3 separate regions of the Homo sapiens genome follow, and all the other regions are linked to region 3. The links are contacts of gene promoters, found by promoter capture Hi-C in human tissues and cell types (Jung and others, 2019). All regions are on one chromosome and are shown on one strand. Each heading gives the region's core, a stretch centred on a gene start or on the middle of the fragment in contact. The rest is flanking DNA. Distances are from core to core; before and after follow the strand shown.

Region 1 (2,700 bases), core at 164-2,663, 130 kb after region 3:
AAGAATTTAAGAAAGATTGATATTACTTCTTTTTAAACGTTTGGTAGAATTCACCAGTGAATCCATCTGGTCCTGTGATTTTCTTCATTGTGAAATTTTTTAATTACTGGCTCAATTTTCTTTTCATTATTGGTTCTGTTCAAATTTCCTATTTTTTCATGATTCAATCGTGGTAGCTTGTATGTTTCTAAGAATTTCTTTCTTTCTTTTTTTTTTTTTTTTTTTTTTTGAGACAGTTTCCCTCTTGTTGGCCAGTTTGGAGTACAATGGCATGACCTCGGCTCATTGCCACCTCTGCCTTCCAGGTTCAACAAACAATTCTCCTACCTCAGCCTCCCCAGTAGCTGGGATTACAGGTGCCTGCCACCATGCCTGGCTAATTTTTATATTTTTAGTAGAGACGGGATTTCACAGAATTTATTTCTTTTGGGTTACTCAGTGTGTTGGTGTATAATTGTTCATAATAGTCTCTTACCGTTTCATTTCTGTGGCATCAATTGTAATGACTCCTCTTTCATTTCCAATTTTTTTTAACCTTCTCTTTTTCTTAGTCTGGCTAAGGGTTTGTCCATTTTACTTATTTTTAAAAGCCAAACTCAGTTTTGTTGTTTTTTTCTATTGTTTTTCTATTTTCTATTTCTGCTCCAATCCTTATTTTCTACCTTCTGCTAACTTTAGCCTTAGTTTGCCCTTTTTCTAGTTCCTTAAGGTATAAAGTTAGGTTGCTTATTTAAGGAAATCCTGTCATTTGTGACAACACAGATGGACCTGGAGGACTTCGTGCAAAGTGAAATGAACCAGTCACAGAAGGACAAATACTGCATGAATCCACTTCTGTGCAGGATCTAAAAATGTCAAACTCACAGAAGCGGAGAATAGAATGGTGGTTGCCAGGTGCCAGGAGGAGGGGGAAACGGTTGCTGTTCAAGAGGTATAAAGTTTTAGTTATACAAGGTGAGTAACTTCTAGAGGTGTGCTGCACAGCATTGTACAACTTGCAGTTAACAGCACTGCACTGGGCACTTAAAATTTTGTTAAAGAGGGTGGACCTCGTATTAAGTGTTCTTACTACAATTAAAAAAAACAGTTATTAACTTTTTCAAGATACCACATACATGTAGGTCTGAGATGACACTAGCTGTGTGAACTTGGGCTAGTCGCTTAAAGTTGCATTATAGGTGTGTTTAAGTTATGAGATTTCAATTACGGTTGACAGAGACAGAAGAGTAAAAAGTAAATGATGTGAGTGATCCTATCTACCTGCCCATCTAGAGAGCACACACTTCTGAGTGAAGTTGAAAAGCAAGATGTGAATCTGCTGTTCCTTCAGTTTGTCTGAGTTCTCACATGGCTCCAGTAGTGTGAGCATCCCCAGGCTGGGTGTAACTTTATTGTTTAAAGTGTATTATTTAAAGTCCATTTGTTTTGTGCAACATGTCATCTTCCTGAAAGCCTGCTACCTAATCTGGTGCTCAGCCAACAAAACAGTGATTTCTTCCAGTGCTGCAAAACTTAGAGGATTTTTTTCTAAAAAAAAAAAAATTGATTGCAAAGGATTTATCTCATGTGAAATTTAAGATGTTATTCCATCGTATGGTCTTGGAGTGAAACTTCCTCATCTGTAGAATGGGGCTAATAATGTCCATTTTACTAATCTCAGAGGAGATTTAGGTTAGGAAATGTCCTGAATGCACCTGGGGTCCTTTGGATGCCCTCTCTTTCAGCCCCATTCCAAAGCTTTTTATAAAATTCTTCCTCAAAGCTCTAAGGGTTAGTGTCCTGTGAAGATGTGGTTAAGAAAACTGATGTGAAGATGTGGTTAAGAAAACTGATGTGAGGCTGTTTAAAAAACTACTCCCATTGCAGGGATACAGGATTTTTGGAATAGCAGCCTGGGCCTTGGAGACCTGCATTCCAGTTTGTTCTCTCTCACTAATGACCTCTGTGTCCTTGGACAAATCACTTCATGTTTCTGGGCCTTAATTTCCTTACCTGTAAAAGGTGGAGATTAGGTCAGATGCTTCCAGGGCCCTTTCCAGCTCTAACATTCTATGATTCTTTCATATGGTTCATGTGTCAAAAATGTCTTTTGAAGATACTATAATGATTATAATTATTCCTCTTGCTTTTATGCGTCATGTCTCTTTTAGATTCATAAGCATCTTGACACCTTCACTCAAAATGATCCACCTCTTTTTATCAGAGTTGCCAAGCTGATCATTGCTGGTGGCGCACATTGTTGCTTATTCGTTTCAGTCTCTCTTGATGAGCTTTATTGTCTTAATAGTAGATGACTGAGTTCTTAAAGCTTTTCTTCCTTTTGCCCTCTTGGTGTTTGGCCTGTTTCAGCGCTCTAGCTGCCTAGCCTGTTGGACATTCTGACCCCCAGTAACTGTTGAGATGAACTTGAATAGATGGTCACTCTTCAATATGTGGCTCTCCCTAAGTAATCCTTACATTCTTCTACCGAGAGAACAGCCACGTCCATTCTCTGATTTCCTGCCTATTTTGCAACAAATCAAGTGTTTTTACCAACCTTTAGACCATCTGCTCCTGTCACCCAACTGCTGGAAGACAGTGTCCTGGCTGCCAATGGACATCCAAGGCTTAGATTTCTGTTCTTTCTCAGCTTTCTGTTTCAATACATTTGACTTTAGAGAAGACTTTGTGGCATGAAATTAAATTTTTTTATTTCAGTAG
Region 2 (2,700 bases), core at 60-2,559, 64 kb after region 3:
CACGGTGGCTCACGCCTGTAATCCCAGCACTTTGGGAGGCCAAGGGGGTGGATCACGAGGTCAGGAGATTGAAACCGTCCTGGCTAACACAGTGAAAACCCATCTCTACTAAAAATACAAAAAAAATTAGCTGGATGTGGTGGCTCATGCCTGTAATCCGAGCTACTCGGGAGGCTGAGGCAGGAAAATGGCGTGAACCCGGGAGGCAGAGCTTGCAGTGAGCTGAGATCAGGCCACTGCCCTCTAGCCTGGGCGACAGAGGGAGACTCCGTCTCAAAAAAAAAAAAAAAAAAAAAAAAAAAAAAAAAAACTTATGATACTTTAGAGCTGCGTTCGGTTTAACTATGTGTATTAGGAATTCTATCAATTATTATTAATGTTGATCTATACATTTTACAAACAACAGATGTATGACATACGCACGAGTATTATCAAGGTCACTCTTGGCATGTTCTTGCACAAGCATAAAGTTGTTGCAAATATGAACATATTTAAGAATTTCGTAATGGCATATTTTCAATATGTTGAACTACAATCAAAAGCTGGCCAGGTGCAGTGGCTCACGCCTGTAATCGTAGCACTTTGGGAGGCTGAGGTGGGTGGATCACAAGGTCAAGAGATCGAGACCATCCTGGCCAACATGGTGAAACCCCATCTCTACTAAAAATACAAAAATTGGCCTGATGGCACGTACCCGTAGTCCCAGCTACTTGGGAGGCTGAGGCAGAACAATCGCTTGAACTGAGGAGGCAGAGGTTGCAGTGAGCCAAGATTGTGCCACTGCACTCCAGCCTGGAGACAGAGTGAGACTCCATCTCAAAAAAAAAAAAAAAAAAAAGGCGGGGTGGGGGTCATATATTTATGTTTTAAACTACTTGGGGCACTATTAGGAGTTACTTTGTTATTTGTTACGTGAGTTCAAATTTTCTTTAGTTAGCTTTGGTCAAAACAACGTAAAAAAAACATAATAGAAACAGAAAAGTTAGAAGCCTTTTTTATTGTATAAAAGCTTTACACACCTGATGATTTTGGGGGAGAAAAATCACACATATATTTGTTCTCTAGGCATCCGTGTATTTTATTGTAATGTATTCACCTGTGTATGTGCTTATAAGAATTACTAGGCTTATTCTTCTCAACCTAGAAAATTATCCATGCCTCAAAAGAAAAACATTGTTAAAACTTCTTGCAGCAATTCAGAGTAATAAATCTCCCAAAATGATTTCTTTTAAGGCTAATCTTTGCTTAAATTTTACAAAGATATGTTGAGTTTTAGACAAGATAGTCTTTCCTTTAAAAAAGCAAGAACAAAAGGATGAAAATTGCTGAAAACCTGAACACCACATTCCTATTCACATCACTTTAATAATTTATTGAGTGCAGGGCCAACAATATGAAATTTTCATGGATGAGTATTATCCAGCCTCATATAAAAGTAACGTGAAAAATAAGGTCAGAGATAAATCACAAATACCAGTTACTCTTGTCTGTGGTTCTCTGAATTATAATAAAGTGTCATTTATAAAGAAAAAAATTTTGGGTTATATAATAGAAACTAATTATCATTATTTGTAGAATTTTTTAAAAATTCAGAATTAAATTATAAAGGCCAAAAGTGGATGATAAAATGAAATTATTCCTGCTTTAAGTGCAGTTGGGGCTAAAAATGGGTAGAGAATTGTAAAATTATATTTTAATTCTTTATCATTACTATTACTATTTAGGAATTTTTATTTAGGCTAGATTGGACAGTCTTCGGAGATTTCAAAAATATTGTTCAGGACCTCATTCCAGGTAGTTTATTCTGACCTATGTCTCCAAGTCTAGGGAAGGGATCACCTGAATAAGATGTGAGATTTTTACCTCAAGGTTAATATTTTTAGAAATTCTGAGTGAGCGTGTGTGTGTGTGTGTGTGTGTGTGTGTGTGTGTGTGTGTGTGTGTGTATGTGTATGCGCATGCACACGTGTGTCAGAGAGAGAGTGCTTGTAGGGTGGGTTGGGGTTTGGAACATAAAGAAGAGGAAAGGCAATGTAGAGGGATTGAGTAGGAGAGATTTATATTCACCAAGTGCTCTCATCTAAACTTACTTCCAAAGGGCTTAATTTTAAAATAATAAATTCACAAACACATTTGACTGCACCTGTTTTATCTCCCAAGAACTTAAAGGAAGCAAAAAAAATTTCAGTGGATTTCCTTTTATTACTGGTGGTGCCAGAAAATAAGACTTAGAGGCTACGTGTGGTTCATCTGAATCTCTGAATCAGTAATAAGTATATCATAATAGCGTTCCACAGAGATGCTGTACCCCTCCTCTAGCCAGCAAAGAACATTTTCCAGACCCTGGAAGGTGTTTTCATCGGTCATTAAGTTTTGCATATGATGGGTGTCCTGCACCTGCTAGAATTCCTGGATCTTGCTCAGTTTTTCCTCTCCTTGCAGGTGGAGACAAAGCTGCAAAGCATTTGCACGGCATTCTCCGCTTGCTTTCAGAGGTGGGCTGATCCAGGGCTCTTTGACCTTATTATTTTGATCTTAAGCTTAGTCCTTTATCACACTGCGTTTAGTCCTCCCTGGAGGCCACTCCTTCTCCTTCCTTTCTCCCCCTCAAAGAACAGCACAGATCCATATAAAATGAAAAAGAAGAGTAATAATAATGATAATAAATGGCTGTAATAATAATTAGTACAGCAGACATCA
Region 3 (2,700 bases), core at 98-2,597:
GGCAGTTAAGCCTCTGGGGATTTTGAAGTAAGGGAAACAAGAAGCCAGCTAGAAATGGGCCCTTTCTACCTGTCATTCGGTCTCAGTAAGAGGAAGAAAAACAATTTCTTCCTTTTGCAACGAAGTGATTACAGAGGTCTCCCCTTGGACCCTGATTTTCACCGCCCCTCGCCCCACAAATGCAGGCAAAGGCACTATCCCTTCCAATTTTATAATCTACTCATTTCTGTACGTGCGGGTTTATCTGGCTTGGTGGCAAGCCAAGGGTGGGTGGGGAGAGGCATTAAAACCTGGCAACCCCGCTCCCCCATCTCCGGATGCCGCAGGGCTCCTGCCAGCCGTCCTCGGTTAAAAACGTGCTTATGGATTATTTCACTTCCCTGCAGTTCATGTGCAGCCGCTCATTACCACCCGCTTCAATCACCGCTGCCAGCATCTCCCCTGAACGTTTTTCCCTCCCCCGATTTCAGGGCCATTGGTCATAACCGACATTTAAAGGAAATAAACACTGATTTAAAAAATTACAACACCCATCTCTGCCTGAAGAGCCCAGAAGCAATGAATAACAGAACAGTCCGGCGAAGAGAGCCTGTCGGATCTTAGCTCCGCCAGCCCTTCCTGCCTTACAATTCCCCACAACCGAGCAGCACAAATCACCATTTCCAGGCACCACTCGAGTCTGCCAATTCCACTTTCGCTTAATCTCATTTTAAAATCCTCTACAGATGAGGCTCTGTCGCTGCCGCGAGGGGCCGGGCGGCCGCGGCGGGAGGGACAGGGGGCCTGGGTGGGAAGGGAGCGCGAGGGCCCCTAGCGGTTCGCGGCCTCGGGCGGATTCCCAGAACGAGTGCGGGCCGCCCGGACTGGCAGACTGCGAGCCCCGAGGGGCGCGGGACGCAGCCGGCTCAGACAAAGAAACCGGCGCCAGCGGCCGTCCCTGCCGCCCCTCTCCTTCCCTCACGCATCCTCCCAGGAAAAACAGGGCACACTGACGGCCAAAGGGGCTGGCCTTCCCCTTCAGACAGCTGGACGGGAGGTGCCCTCTGCGGGGCTTTGACGTCCCTCGCAGAAGAGTCGCGGGCTCAGCGGTCCTCGACAGCGTCCCCGTCCCGCTCCCCGGCGGGCGCCCCTCCCTGTCCTCCCGGGTGCGAACCGGGCGCTGGCCGGGGACTCCGGGGACGCGTGCGCCCCTCGCCGCGCGAGGTGCCGCCGAGCCAGCCCGAGAGGGCGGGGGGCGGGCGGGGCGGCGCGCGGGGGCGGGGGAGCGGCCGGGACACGTGTGGCGGCGGCGGGGGGGACGCGGCGCCCGGGGCTTTAAGAAGGTGTGGAGCGGGGCGGGCGCTTTCCCAGGCCTGGCCGAGGGGCGTCGCGCAGAGGCGGCGGCGGCGCACGGAGGCGGCAGACGACGCGCTCTCGGCGCCCGCAGCCCCGGTCCCGCGCTCCCGCGGCCCAAAGTAACTTTGGGAGCCGCCGTCTCCCGCGGAACTTCTCGGCGGGGGCCCGCTCCCAGGCCCGCTCCCGAGCCCGTTCCGCTCCCGTCCGCCTTCTTCTCGCCTTCTCTCCGCGTGGCTCCTCCGTCCCGGCGTCTCCAAAACTGAATGAGCGAGCGGCGCGTAGGGCGCGCGGCGGCGGCGGCGGCGGCGGCGGCATGGAGCGCAGTGGCTGGGCCCGGCAGACTTTCCTCCTAGCGCTGTTGCTGGGGGCGACGCTGAGGGCGCGCGCGGCGGCTGGCTATTACCCCCGCTTTTCGCCCTTCTTTTTCCTGTGCACCCACCACGGGGAGCTGGAAGGGGATGGGGAGCAGGGCGAGGTGCTCATTTCCCTGCATATTGCGGGCAACCCCACCTACTACGTTCCGGGACAAGAATACCATGGTAGGTACCGCAGCACCTCCGCGCTCGCCGCCGCCGGGTGCGCCCGCCAGCGCACCTTTCTCATCCCTTTCCTTCTTCCAAGGGGCCTTGGAAACAAGAACCATGACAACCCTGGCCCCAGCGATGCGCTTGGTCCAGGGAGCGAGAATAAAGTTAGTGGAGAATGGAGTCACAAGTTGGGATTCATTCTCCATGTCCCCACTCCCCGAACGCATCTCCTGGTAATGAGCTGGTGCTTGTGCTAAACGCCTGAGAATTCTTGGAGGCCGGTGTCTTTCCCCCTCACTCCCCGTACTTACCGCAGGCACTTTAAATTGAACCTGCGCATTTTGTTTCTTTACTCCTAGGACTTGGATTTCAGACCTTTGTCCTGCTCCCGGTCCCCCCAGATGGGTCCCCGGGGGGGCGTTGGGGGCTGTCGCTGGGCTTTGCGGGCAGGCTGGTGACAGATTGAAGCGCCCAGGTCTGTGGCTGCCCCGCGCCGCTCGACCGCAAAGTTCCCGCTGCTCACCAGCCAGGAGTCCCTGGCATTTCATTCAGTGTCATACAGCCCTCCTGAAAGGGAGCGGCTGCTTCCAGCTCCCTATTCTTTTGAAAGTGTGATTTAATATGTCAGTAATTGATGATTTTTCTGATTCCTGCCTTACTTTTACATGGTGCTTCTTGTTAGAATTATCTTTGTGATGTTTATTAATGACTTTGTATTTTATCTGCACAGCTTTAATTTCCAGGTAGAGGCTGGAATCCCTTATAATTTAGAGGTATCTTAAAAATGGAATCATTATGCAGCCCTGCATCAAAAATAAACATTACAGAAGAAATAAAA

Evidence for each region. Contacts are between HindIII fragments. The study calls those that stand out against the background at their distance.
Region 1: a contact is called between a fragment that was not itself captured here and the fragment with the promoter of RELN in region 3, in 4 of the 25 tissues and cell types used here (liver, mesendoderm cells, pancreas and 1 more).
Region 2: a fragment that was not itself captured here is called in contact with the fragment with the promoter of RELN in region 3 in 2 of the 25 tissues and cell types used here (dorsolateral prefrontal cortex and spleen).

What each region holds. Positions count from the first base shown.
Region 1 is chr7:103,862,662-103,865,361 of GRCh38, reverse strand. All of the region lies in intron 2 of RELN (reelin), which reads left to right. Among named protein-coding and RNA genes, the nearest start is that of RELN, 130 kb to the left of the region's middle. The HindIII fragment of the contact is 4,123 bases long and covers 1-2,700 here.
Region 2 is chr7:103,924,238-103,926,937 of GRCh38, reverse strand. All of the region lies in intron 1 of RELN (reelin), which reads left to right. Among named protein-coding and RNA genes, the nearest start is that of RELN, 64 kb to the left of the region's middle. The HindIII fragment of the contact is 4,065 bases long and covers 1-2,700 here.
Region 3 is chr7:103,988,305-103,991,004 of GRCh38, reverse strand. RELN (reelin) reads left to right here and starts at 1,347. Exons shown (of 65, transcript NM_005045.4): 1 at 1,347-1,874. The coding sequence starts at 1,649. The HindIII fragment of the contact is 8,012 bases long and covers 1-2,700 here.